3 separate regions of the Homo sapiens genome follow, and all the other regions are linked to region 1. The links are contacts of gene promoters, found by promoter capture Hi-C in blood cells and fetal thymus (Javierre and others, 2016). All regions are on one chromosome and are shown on one strand. The core of a region is centred on a gene start or on the middle of the fragment in contact, and the rest is flanking DNA. Distances in the headings are between cores, read along the strand shown.

Region 1 (3,954 bases), core at 906-3,405:
ACAAGTCTTGTGTACCAAAAAGATCTCTCCTCAATGTAGCTGCCAAAGCATGTGATTCAAGTTTAATCTACACTGATGTATTGTTGTACACAAAAGCCTGGACCAGTATTTGGAACTTGCTATGACTAAAGAAGATATTTCAAAATGGCCCTCAAAAGAGGGTATGTAGCTCAAGATCTAGCTTAAAGTTAACATGATAAAATGTTCTGCCTCTGTAACTTGGCATTAAAAAAAATAATTTTTAAAGCTAAAATTAACAATTTGCAAATTCCCTTCAAATACATGAATATTACTATGACACACGTACCAATTAAATGTTTGAAAGGCAGCTGATGATCTCGAAGGTTTAGGTGTGCAATATGTCCAATCCTGCTAAACCCTGAAGTTACATCTTGACCTTCAGGAAGCACAGCTCTCAAGATTTCTTCTGACTTAAAGTGTTCATATGTTAGTTCCAAATTGTATTTAGAGATCTGTGGACTGACATTAAGCTGCTCTAAAACACTGAGTTCTGCTTTCTCAAAGGAATCATGAGTAAATATTTTATAGGGATCCAACATGATTAGTCTACTTTCTTTATCTTCCGGATCTTCAATCACACGTCTTATGCCTGGGCGCTGCAATGCTGCCCTTTTTAGGGATCGCATCAATTTACTGACTATTTCTTTCCTCACTTTAAGCACTGGAATGTTGACTGTCTTTTTAAAAGCTGTTCTATCAAGTTTTGTCATGCCTCGGACATCAGAAGGTGGTGAAAACAATTCAGTCTCTCTCTCATGTGTTTCTGTTTCTGGCATGGTTGAGAATCTTTTTCTTTGACCCAATAAGAAAATACCAGGTGCTTCCAAAAGCATCTGTGTCAGGGATGTCCAAGCTACTGGAATCAACGATTTTGATTCAGTTATGCTATGGCTTTCCAGTTTCAGAAATCTTCCTGAGAATCCAAATGGCCTCCATAAGATCCTTAAAAAAAAAAAAAAAAAATTCACACACGACAGCTTTTGAGAATAAAAATCTAAATTCTACTATCTCAAATAACGGGCTAAATGCTGACAAATAAAACGTTTAGTGATGTGTGGGAAGTATACTATCTTTTCCAGACTAGGATGACTTCTTCAGGAAGTCGTATTAGTGGTAGATAATAGTGGTATATATTAAATTTACACCTTCAACCCATCTGCTCCCAGTTCAGAGGGCTTAGTGATCCATTAGCCATACTCAATGATCCTCTTCACCCACAATTTTCTAGATAATACATTTGGGATTGGAAGACTGAAGTATGAGTTAAATGGTCATCTGTAAATGAAATAGTCATTATACATGACCATTACTAGTGGTGATATTTATTAGGATAGTCTCATGGGTGCTTATTGTGTCAGATACTGCGCTAAATGCTTTATGTACATTATGAATCTTGGGAGGTGTGCAGTATTGCACCCTCATTTTGTAAATAAGTAAACTAAAGCTCAGACGTAAGGTAACCCACCCAAAGTCTCCCAGCTGATAAGTGGCTAAACATGGATTAAAACCTAGTTTTGACTGACTTCGGTGCTTGTGTTCTTAATATATTGCTCTGTTGTTTGTTTTCGATGCTTTACTGCCACATGTCCTGCCTTTAACTAGAGGCTTCTGTATTTTGAGGACGAGAGCTTTGCTGATTGTTATATGCATAGTATCAGTTATTCACTGTCTTCTAAAATACCAAAGAATTTACTTGTAAGGGGAAAGGGCCCTGTCCCAGAATCCTGTAAAGCAACGAAGTCTAACTTCACCGTCAGAGATCAAATTGGTTCTAGCAGCTGACCAGCTGGGTGACCCTGGATAAATTACTATAAGTCTCGGTTTTCCCACCAGTAAAATGTGGCGAAAGGCTTTTGAAACATTCCTTACTATCCAGAACCTCGAAACTAAGCTCAGCACCTAGGCGGGTGGGTGACCTCGCGATGTTTCTGTGCCCAGGCAGCACATGGCAGAGAGCAGCCCTGGGCGGGCTGGTACCTCCCCTGGACCATTAGCCCCTAACGCGGCCGCCACCTCACCAAAGCACCATTCCAATTCCCCACGTCGCTCTGCAGCTGGATCCGCGAGCCGACCCCTCACCTCCCGCTCCGGTACCGATCGGATGTGGGTCGCGGGTGGATGGGCGGGTCTTCTATGACATCATCACTGTTCGCCGCGAAGAGGGCGCGCGTCATCAGATCAAGTCGACTCGCTCCTCTCCTTCCAGGCCCTGGTGAAGTACGGAATGCCGGAAGGGCCGGGCTCAAAGCTCCGCCTCTGGCGCGACCGACGACTGGAGCGCAGGGCAGGGGTAGAGGCTCGTAGATGGAACTGGTAGTCAGCTGGAGAGCAGCATGGAGGCGTCCTGGGGGAGCTTCAACGCTGAGCGGGGCTGGTATGTCTCTGTCCAGCAGCCTGAAGAAGCGGAGGCCGAAGAGTTGAGTCCGTTGCTAAGCAACGTAAGTGGGCTGTGTTCGCTTCCCCGCGCTGACGCCCTCCGGCTTCCCTCAAGTGCCTGCCAAATAAGACCCAGAAAAGGAGGACCGCACCGGGACAGGGGAGATGCTGGAGCCTGAACCCTGGGGGATGGGGTCTGAAGGCAGCCGCCGAGATTCAGATGAGATTGGCGCAGTTATGAACGTGATAGCAGCCTAGCATACTCTAGAAAGAAAAGATGAAAAGCGTCGGGTGGAAGAGATGCAGCGTTGAGTGGAAGCTGCGAACATGATGGGATGAGCGGCCCTAGGATTATGTACTCACTGCTGTTAGTTAGTATTTTTGTCACCTTATTTTCTCCACCAGTCTCGTGAGGTCTTTGCAAGAGTCACAGGATTTTCCTCTTCCGACTTAGTCATGGGGGGAGGGAAAATAATAAACATTTTAATACAGAAATTCTTAGCGGTAGAATGGAAGTGGCTTGGTAGTAAGTGCATAGCACGTTCCTGACCCTAAAGCCTGTGCAGTGGGCACTCCGCTTTTTAACTCGAGTCCTAGACACTGTTCCCAGGACTTTGTTCCCGGTGCTGTTTGTGGGGAGGGGGATGTTTTCAGGGATACTGCCAGAACAACGTGAATTGCTTCTGTTTATAATATTGTCATTGCAAGATATTCCTGACCATCCTTCCAGTTTGGTAGAACTAATTCATTAGATATATAAGTAGAGATTAGTTGTGCAGTCCTAGTAATTGAGGAGAAACAACTGCCCACAGCAGTCCCAGGTTGACTCAGCAATTCTTTAGTAATCACATGAGCTGAGGCCTTATCCCTCCTCTCTCTCCCCACTCCATTCCCATCCTATCTTCATCTCTTGCAGTCACAAGGTTAGTCATGGCCCTTCCTGAACTCTGCCTGTCTTGTGTACTGGTGGAAATCATTTTCCTAAGAAACCCTAGATTCCTGGAGCTGCAGTAGTGGGAGGTGGGAAGGAAAGGAAAGGAAATTAGTGTTGGTTAAGCAACGAGTGTGTCATACAAACCCTGGTGGTTTGCAGCTTTTTTCCATAATCTTTCATTTATGGAATTTCTTTACGAAATTTTAACTTCACCGTCCAAACATTTAACACTACTAAATTTGTGTGCTTACAGGAACTTCACAGACAGCGATCCCCAGGTGTTTCATTTGGTTTATCAGTGTTTAATTTGATGAATGCCATCATGGGAAGTGGCATCCTTGGCTTAGCTTATGTTTTGGCTAATACCGGTGTCTTTGGATTTAGGTGAGTCTTCATATTTTAGCATCAAATTTTTTTTTCCATTTTGATAATATACGGAGAAGTAGAGAGATAGATTCCAGAAGCTGCTATTATACAATTTCTAGTTAGTTATTTCTGGGGTTTTAGCATTTTTCTTGTTATTCTTGTTGCTAGTGTGTACCTTGGAGGGCTACTACATAGCTTCTTAAATACACAGAAGTGTGACTAGTTTTTAAAAATGGGAACTTGATCCACATTTCATT
Region 2 (3,954 bases), core at 822-3,321, 260 kb before region 1:
CTAGGACCTCAAATATGGTCACTGAAGGAAAGGTAGATTTGGGGGAACTTTTGTGATAGGTGGGCTGTTTATCCTCATCTTGAATTAGATGTTCAGTCAACTCTTTTTTTTTTTTTTGAGACAGTCTTGCTCTGTTGCCCAGGCTGGAGTGCAGTGGCACGATTTCTGCTCACTGCAACCTCTACCTCCCAGGTGATTCTCCTGCCTCAACCTCTGAGTAGCTGGGATTACAGATGCATGTCACCATGCCTGTCTAATTTTTGTAGTTTTAGTAGAGATGGGGTTTCACCATGTTGGCCAGGCTGTTCTCGAACTCCTGAGCTCAAGTGATCTGCCAGCCTCGGTCTCCCAAAGTGCTGGGATTATGTGAACGTGGCTCACTGCAGCCTCGATCTCCTGGGCCCAAGCAATCCCTCCCACTTCAGCCTCCCAAGTAGCTGGGACTACAGGTACGTACTACTATGCCCAGCTAATTTAAAAAAAAAATTTTTTTTTGAGACAGAGTCTCGCTCTGTCACCCAGGCTGGAGTGCGGTGGTGCAATCTTGGCTCACTGCAAACTCCGCTTCCTGGGTTCAAGCAATTCTCCTGACTCAGCCTCCTGAGTAGCTGGGATTACAGGCACGCACCACCATGCCTGGCTAATTTTTGTATTTTTAGTAGAGACAGGGTTTCACCATGTTGGTCAGGCTGGTCTCAAACTCTTGACCTTGTGATCCACCCGCCTCGGCCTCCCAAAGTGCTGGGATTACAGGCATGAGCCACCGCGCCTGGCCAATTTTTTAAAAATTTTTGTAGAGATGAGGTCTCACTATGTTGCCCAGGCTGGTCTGGAATTCCTGGGCTCAAGTGATCCTCCTGCCTCAGCCTCCCAAAGTGTTAGAATTACAGGCGTGACACCACATCTGGCCTCAGTAAACTACTTTTTTGAGAGAGCAGCCCAATGTTAAAGGTAATTAATTCACCTAAAACATTTTCCTTCCTGAAGTATTAGAATATTGTGATTATATTATCACCTCTATTGATAAATAAGTGCCACAGGGCTGTTTATGTCTTCCAAATATTTTTAATGCAAAGGAATGTCTTCAAGTAAAAAGAAAACACTGCATATGAACCCTTTTAAAACATTTAACTAGAAAGTTTAATCACAGAAATACCAGTGTTAAGAAAAACATTTCTAAGTATGTTTCAGTTATTCTCTTACATTTCTGTTTCAGACCACACATATGAAAAAACTGCTTTTATTTGAAAACACTGCCTTCAACTTAAGTATGCTTTAAAACTCTTATTTTTATTTATTTATTTATTTATTTTTGAGATAAGGGGTTTTGCTCTTGTTGCCCAGGCTGGAGTGCAATGGCGTGATCTCGGCTCACTGCAACCTCCACCTCCTGGGTTCAAGCGATTCTCCTGCCTCAGCCTCCTAAGTAGCTGGGATTACAGGCATGTGCCACCATGCCAGCCTAATTTTTGTTTTTTTTAGTAGAGACGGGGTTTCAATATGTTAGGCTGGTCTGGAACTCCTGACCTCAGGTGATCCACCCGCCTTAGCCTCCTAAAGTGCTGGGATTAACAGGCGTAAGCCACTGTGCCCGGCGTCTTTAAAATTCTTGTAGGCAGCTGATTTGTGGCAAAAAAACATCTCAAATAGATGTTTAGTTTATTGTGTGTATGTTTATGAAATTGTTTGCCAATGTATGCATGAACAAAATGATTAGTTATCTTTTTATAGAGCCATAAATAGCATAATACATGCAACATTTTCCCCAACTGCTACTGAATATAAATACTTCTGAATTTGTAGAAATTATAACATATATAAAAGAGAATTTGATCTAAAATTTGATTTTTGAGCATAACTACAACTGAAGTAAAAATTGAACAACAATTTTAAGATAAAAAAATCCAACTGAAAAACCATATAGATACAAAGCATTACTTTGTAATGATAAGAAAAAAATCAGGCCAGGCGCTGTGGCTCATGCCTGTAATCCCAGCACTTTGGGAGGCTGAGGTGAGCAGATCACAGGAGTTCAAGACCAGCCTGGCCAACATAGCAAAACCCTCTCTCTGTTAAACACACGAAGATTAGCCGGTCATGGTGATGCACGCCTGTAGTCCCAGCTACTAGGGAGGCTGAGGCAGGATAATCACTTGAACACGGGAGGCAGAGGCTGCAGTGAGCCGAGATCGCGCCACTGTACTCCAGCCTGGGTGACAAAATGAGTCTCCGCCTAAAAATAATAATAATAATAATAATAATAATCTTAGTTGCTCAGACTGTAAAGTGAGTAAAAGATGTAGATATTCTACTTTTCCACATAAATCCCAACTATAGAAAGATAAGTCTATCTTGTCAAGACATTTTAAAGAATGGCTCAGTATCTGTTTGTGAGAAAAAACTGAATCCCCAAAATGTTTTATTGAGAACTGCAATACCTAACTACCATAGAAATGTTGCTTACTGGATTAAACTTAACTATCTGGTTAAACTTAGACTGTCTGTTCAACTCACCCAGACAGTCTAAGATTTGATCTTACTTATTTTAACTGAAAATGCTATTCTTATTCCTATTAAATGTCCCATTTAAAAACTCAGCTATTAGTTCATAATAATTTTCTATGGCAGTGCTCCTCTAGATTACACAATTAAAAGTATTTCTACTTTTCTCCTCCCCCAACATACATAACTCATTCTTTCTGCTCAAATTTGTTGCCTTTAAAATGTGACCTGTTTGGAAATTTTCCAAATGAGAGAAAAGGGGTTAGATCCACATTAAATTATTATCAAACTAAGCACTTTGGCTTTCCCTGTGGTTTTCATATTTTTGCCCTATGTTAGATAGTAACTTAACTCTTTCCATAACTTGGAACAATGATGAACTGAATAGTATGCTGCAGGAATGTCTTGTTTTAGTACCATTTTGCCTAAAGAAATGCAAATGTACAGAATGAAATTTAGAACAATTTTTCCATTAATTCCTTCAATAAGCTGACATAGACCATAGTTGTGGTAACAAGAGAGTTGTGCATAAATTGATTTTTTTGGGGGGGTGGTAAAACCATCTTATAGGAAGCAGACCTTTAAAGCCAACAATTACTACTTTGGTTTTGTAAAAATCTGGATTTTCAGATTTGTCTACAAGAAGGCAAACGTGCATTAAGATCTACCCTTCCTGAATTCAAGGGATTATGCAAACTCCACTGCCAAATTCTAACCATTTCTATTTCTTTAAAGAGAAAATGACATAGAGGATCCAGGCTTGCTTAAAGTCAGTGAAGAACTAATATATCAGCCTCAGTTTTCCTGAATTTCATTTAAGTGCTTTCTCTGGAAGATTGCTGTTAGTAAAGCCACAAACATATAAAATAAGGCTTACTATTATCTTCACAAATAAACCCACACATTTAGGGGGTTAGTATATATGCTGAGCGATAGAAATCCAATGGCATATTCCTCTGATTTTCTTTTAGGTCTGTTAGTCTTCATTATAGGAGGAAACAGGATTCAAACATAATTGATCCGGTCTTTTTAGCTTGTTCTTCTAAAACATTTTTTGGTCAAATAAATAATGCTTAGGTAAAGTGTATGCATTCTTACCAACTGCTAGACTAATTTTGTGTTCTTAGCAATTTTATTAATTTTTAATATTAAAATGCCAAGCAGTGAGTTATTTTGTAAGCACTGATTGACTTATCATATTTCTGTAATTGTAGAACTGGCAGGACTTGCTATGAACTGTATTTTTCCATTCAGTTGTTAGTAAAATAAAAGCCCATCCTCATGATGCAAGGGAATAAAGCAACCTGGATATGACATGGGTATTGTGAAAGAGGAGAATCACATCAAGGCTACTCTACAGCTTCGGCAGCTAATAAGGTACCTGAACAGAAACATCAATCTATAGCTATCACCAAATGCGTCACTTACAGCAGCTGATGAACACATTTGCTG
Region 3 (3,954 bases), core at 776-3,275, 270 kb after region 1:
CTGTGTCCGGCCATGTCAGCACTTTTTCTCATGTCTTTCCAGGCCCATGAGACCCTCTTCGGCCCCCATTGTTGGCCTGCCTGTCTCCCAATGGTTATTTGAGAAACAGCTCAGGGTAACAGCTCCAGGCTTCCATGCTGAGATGCTCTCTAGCCCTGACTCTTCTTCAACAGAGAATTGCCTGCATCACGTTGAAATGCCTCATCTCCCACCTTCACTGGGAACACCGTAAAGGCAGGAACTATGTCCTATTCATTGAATAATCAATAATCCTCCCCAATATAGTATATGGTAAGAGTTGGCATTCAAAAATATATGATAAACTAAACTAAATGATGACTTCCCAAAAAGAAAGTGTCCCCTTAAAGCAAAGTTCCCTAGGACATTAGACTTTTTTTTTTTTTAAACTCTGTAGGAACACAACGTATACAGATACTTCATTATTGTTACTAGGTTTCTCTATATGTTCAATGTATACCTCAGCCCCTTAGGAACTGGTTTAAATGAAAATCCAAGAAGTTTTGAAAACTGATTGATTAAATGATGTTTGGTAGAATGAATGAAAGGAATTGAAAGTTGGCCAGGCATGGTGGCTCACGCCTGTAATCCCAGCACCTTGGGAGGCCGAGGTGGGCAGATCACCTGAGGTCAGGAGTTCGAGACCAGCCTGGCCAACATGGTGAAACCCTATCTCTCCTAAAAATACAAAATTTAGCCAGGTATAGTGGCATGTGCCTGTAATCCCAGCTACTTGGGAGGCTGAGGCAGGAGAATCGCTTGAACCCTGGAGGCGGAGGTTACAGTGACCCGAGATTGCACCACTGCATTCCAGCTTGAGAGACAGAGTGAGACTCCATCTCAAAAAAAAAAAAAAAAAAAAAAAGAAAGAAAGAAAGGAATTGAACAGAAAAAATAAGCCATAGAGCATCTGACTTATGGAGGCTTTTAAAACACCCTGCAGTAGACGAGGTAAAGTTACACAGTTACCTGAAGACAACAGTAGAGATCATCTGGAAATACTGGCATTGGTAGGCTGACCTCCATGTCCCCATGGGCCTTATTTTCTATAATTCTAAAATGGCTTTCAAATACAGGATACTCCATCAACTTGGAGATGTAATCATCCAGTGTCATTTCACAGTGGTGCAGCTGTAAGACTTCCTTGTATGGTCTGGGAGTGTGTTTCTAAGAAATAGGAGTGCTAAACGAAATGAGTCAAACATACCTCAGTTCTCATGAGTTATATCCCCTGACCACATTATTTATCACCTAAAATCAATATCCTCTAGATGTCTTTATCTTCTTGGTGTTCTCTAGCACTCCTGTCCTGGTGGGTTGACCCATATCTAAAATGCAACCTCATCCATTCAACTGGAACTCACCCACCTAGAGTTACTGGAAAACTTGCATTTCACATTTGGCATGTTACCTCAACCATCAAAATAATCTGGAGTTGGTTTATCCTTTGGAAAACTATTTGCTGCAAGTCAAAAAATCATTAGTCAGAAAAAGGATGTTAATGACAGAAAAACCAGAGCAGCATAAACAAAGCTAAGATACTGGCTGCCAACCACTCAACCTGTGGAAGGGCAGATGGAGGGGGTGCTTTTTGGCCCTCAGACTTCATACCAGCTTACCAGCACCGTAACTATCAATACCATCTGAGGGGGCCTGAACAAGGAAAGCTTATGTGGTCAAAAGGGGCAAGGAGATGCTTCAGAAATTCCAACTCCTCTTGAAGAGTGTCCAGTACTGGGAATCAAAATTAACAAAATTATCCAATAAACCTCCTGCCTCACCACTGCAATGCAAATATTTTCTTTTCTTTTTCCCCTCAGAATGTGAAGTTAAAACTCACCTAATTCAATGGTTTTATGTATGTATGTATGTATGTATGTATGTATGTATGTATGTATGTATGTATGTGTGTGTGTGTATGTATTTAGAGACAGCATCCCACACTGTTGCCCAGGCTGAGTGCAGTGGCTTGATCTCGGGTCACTGCAACCTCTGCCTCCCGGATTCAAGCAACTCTCATGCCTCAGCCTCCCAAGTAGCTGGGATTACAGACATGCACCACCATTCTCGGCTAATTTTTGTATATTCGGTAGCGACGGGGTTTCGCCATGTTTACCTGGCTGGTCTGAAACTCCTGACCTCAGGTGACTCGCCTGCCTCGGCCTCCCAAAATGCTGGGATTATAGGCATGAGCCACTGTGCCTGGCCTCGATGGTTCAATTTATATGGACAACAAGCAACTGGAAACCCTGGCATTATAAGCAGCATATTTATTGTGTATGGTGTGGTCTAATTCTAGATAAACCACTTATAAAACCACCTATCCCCACTTAGGTCTCCAGTTAAAGAAGCTTTAACAGTGACTGCAGCTTCATCTGTATAGTTGCTTCTCCTCTAACAATTATGGCTGGGACACAGCGCCCTTCTCTAGAAATGAGTGCTAGAGCCAGGGAGCAGGGGAGGAGTCAGTCTATCCGAATGCAAGTTCTAAATGTAAGAAGGTGTCTGTTTTGTACACACTCACTTTGGCAGCACATATACTTAAAAAAACATTGGAGTCATACAGAGAAGATTAGTATGCATGGTCCTTTACAAGTATGATGTGCAAATTTGTAACGCGAAGCTTTCCAAAAAAAAAAAAAAAAGGGAAGTGTTGACATAAGTGTGAAGACCATGATAAACAGGTATAGAGATTACCATTTGCTCCACCAATGGCAAATTTTTTTTTATTATTTTTTATTGTTTTGAGACAGAGTCTCGCTCTGTCTCCAGGCTGGAGTGCAGTGGTGCAATCTCAGCTCACTGCAACCTCCGCCTCCTGGATTCAAGCGATTCTCCTGCCTCAGCCTCCTGAGTAGCTGGGATTACAGGTGCATGCCACCACACCCAGCTAATTTTTGTATTTTTAGTAGAGATGGGGTTTCACCATGTTGGTCAGGCTGGTCTCAAACTCCTGACCTCGTGATCCACCCACCTCGGCTTCCCAAAGTGCTGGGATTACAGGCGTGAGCCACCACGCTTGGCCCACCAATGGCAATTTACCCAAATGTATTGAAAACTTATGTCCACAAAAAAAATCTGCATGGCTGGGCACGGCGGCTCATGCCTGTAATCCCAGCACTTTGGGAGGCCGAGATGGGTGGATCACTTGAGGTCAGGAGTTCAAGGCCAGCCTGGCCAACATGGTGAAACCCCATCTCTACTAAAAATAGAAAAATTAGGCAGGCACGGTCGTGGGCGCCTGTAATCCCAACTATTCGGGAAGCTGAGGCACAAGAATCACTTGAACAGAGGTTGCAGTGAGCCGAACTCCAGCCTGGGCGATAGAGTGAGACTCAGTCTCAAAAATAAATAAATAAATAAATAAATAAATAAATAAATAAATAAATCTGGACACGGATGTTGATAGCAGCTTTATTCATAATTGCCAGAACTTGGGACAATGAAGATGCCCTTCAGTAGGTGAATAAATAAACCACAGTACATTCCGACAATAGAATATTATCTAGGAATTAAAAAGAAATGAGCTATTAAGCCATGAAAAGACATATGGGAAACTTAAATGCGTTTTACTGAGTGAAAGAAACCAATCTGAACAGGCTACATGTTGTATGATTCCAGCTATATGACGTTCTGTCTCCATAGGCCAAACAATGGAGACAATAAAAAGATCAGTGGTTGCCAAAGGTTAGGGGGAGGAGGGGACGGATAGGTGGAGAACACAGGATTTTTAGGGTAGTAAAACGATTCTGCATGATACTGCAATGGTAGATACATGTCATTATACAATTTGTCCAAACTCATAGAATGTACGACACCAAGAGGGAAACCTAAGGTAAACTACAGACCTCGGGTACCAATGTAGGTTCATCGATTGTAACAAATGTACCACTTTGGTGGGTTGTTAGTGGGGGAGGTTGTAGGCATGTGGGGCAA

What was found. Contacts are between HindIII fragments. The CHiCAGO score rates a contact against its expected background, and 5 or more counts as called.
Region 2: a contact is called between a fragment that was not itself captured here and the fragment with the promoter of TRMT5 in region 1, in 5 of 17 cell types (endothelial precursors, naive CD8 T cells, erythroblasts and 2 more). The highest score is 9.6, in endothelial precursors.
Region 3: a contact is called between a fragment that was not itself captured here and the fragment with the promoter of TRMT5 in region 1, in 3 of 17 cell types (M2 macrophages, endothelial precursors and M1 macrophages). The highest score is 11.5, in M2 macrophages.

Annotation. Positions count from the first base shown.
Region 1 is chr14:60,978,924-60,982,877 of GRCh38, forward strand. It overlaps TRMT5 (tRNA methyltransferase 5), which reads right to left and starts at 2,156. Exons shown (of 5, transcript NM_020810.3): 1 at 2,040-2,156; 2 at 308-963. The coding sequence starts at 2,050. It overlaps SLC38A6 (solute carrier family 38 member 6), which reads left to right and starts at 2,322. Exons shown (of 16, transcript NM_153811.3): 1 at 2,322-2,459; 2 at 3,585-3,715. The coding sequence starts at 2,355. RefSeq lists an enhancer at 2,046-2,425. The HindIII fragment of the contact is 5,504 bases long and covers 1-3,954 here.
Region 2 is chr14:60,715,776-60,719,729 of GRCh38, forward strand. The region is part of intron 2 of SIX4 (SIX homeobox 4); the gene reads right to left. Among named protein-coding and RNA genes, the nearest start is that of SIX4, 6.6 kb to the right of the region's middle. The HindIII fragment of the contact is 4,804 bases long and covers 1-3,954 here.
Region 3 is chr14:61,246,876-61,250,829 of GRCh38, forward strand. It overlaps a transcript of PRKCH not described here. Among named protein-coding and RNA genes, the nearest start is that of TMEM30B, 32 kb to the right of the region's middle. The HindIII fragment of the contact is 684 bases long and covers 1,684-2,367 here.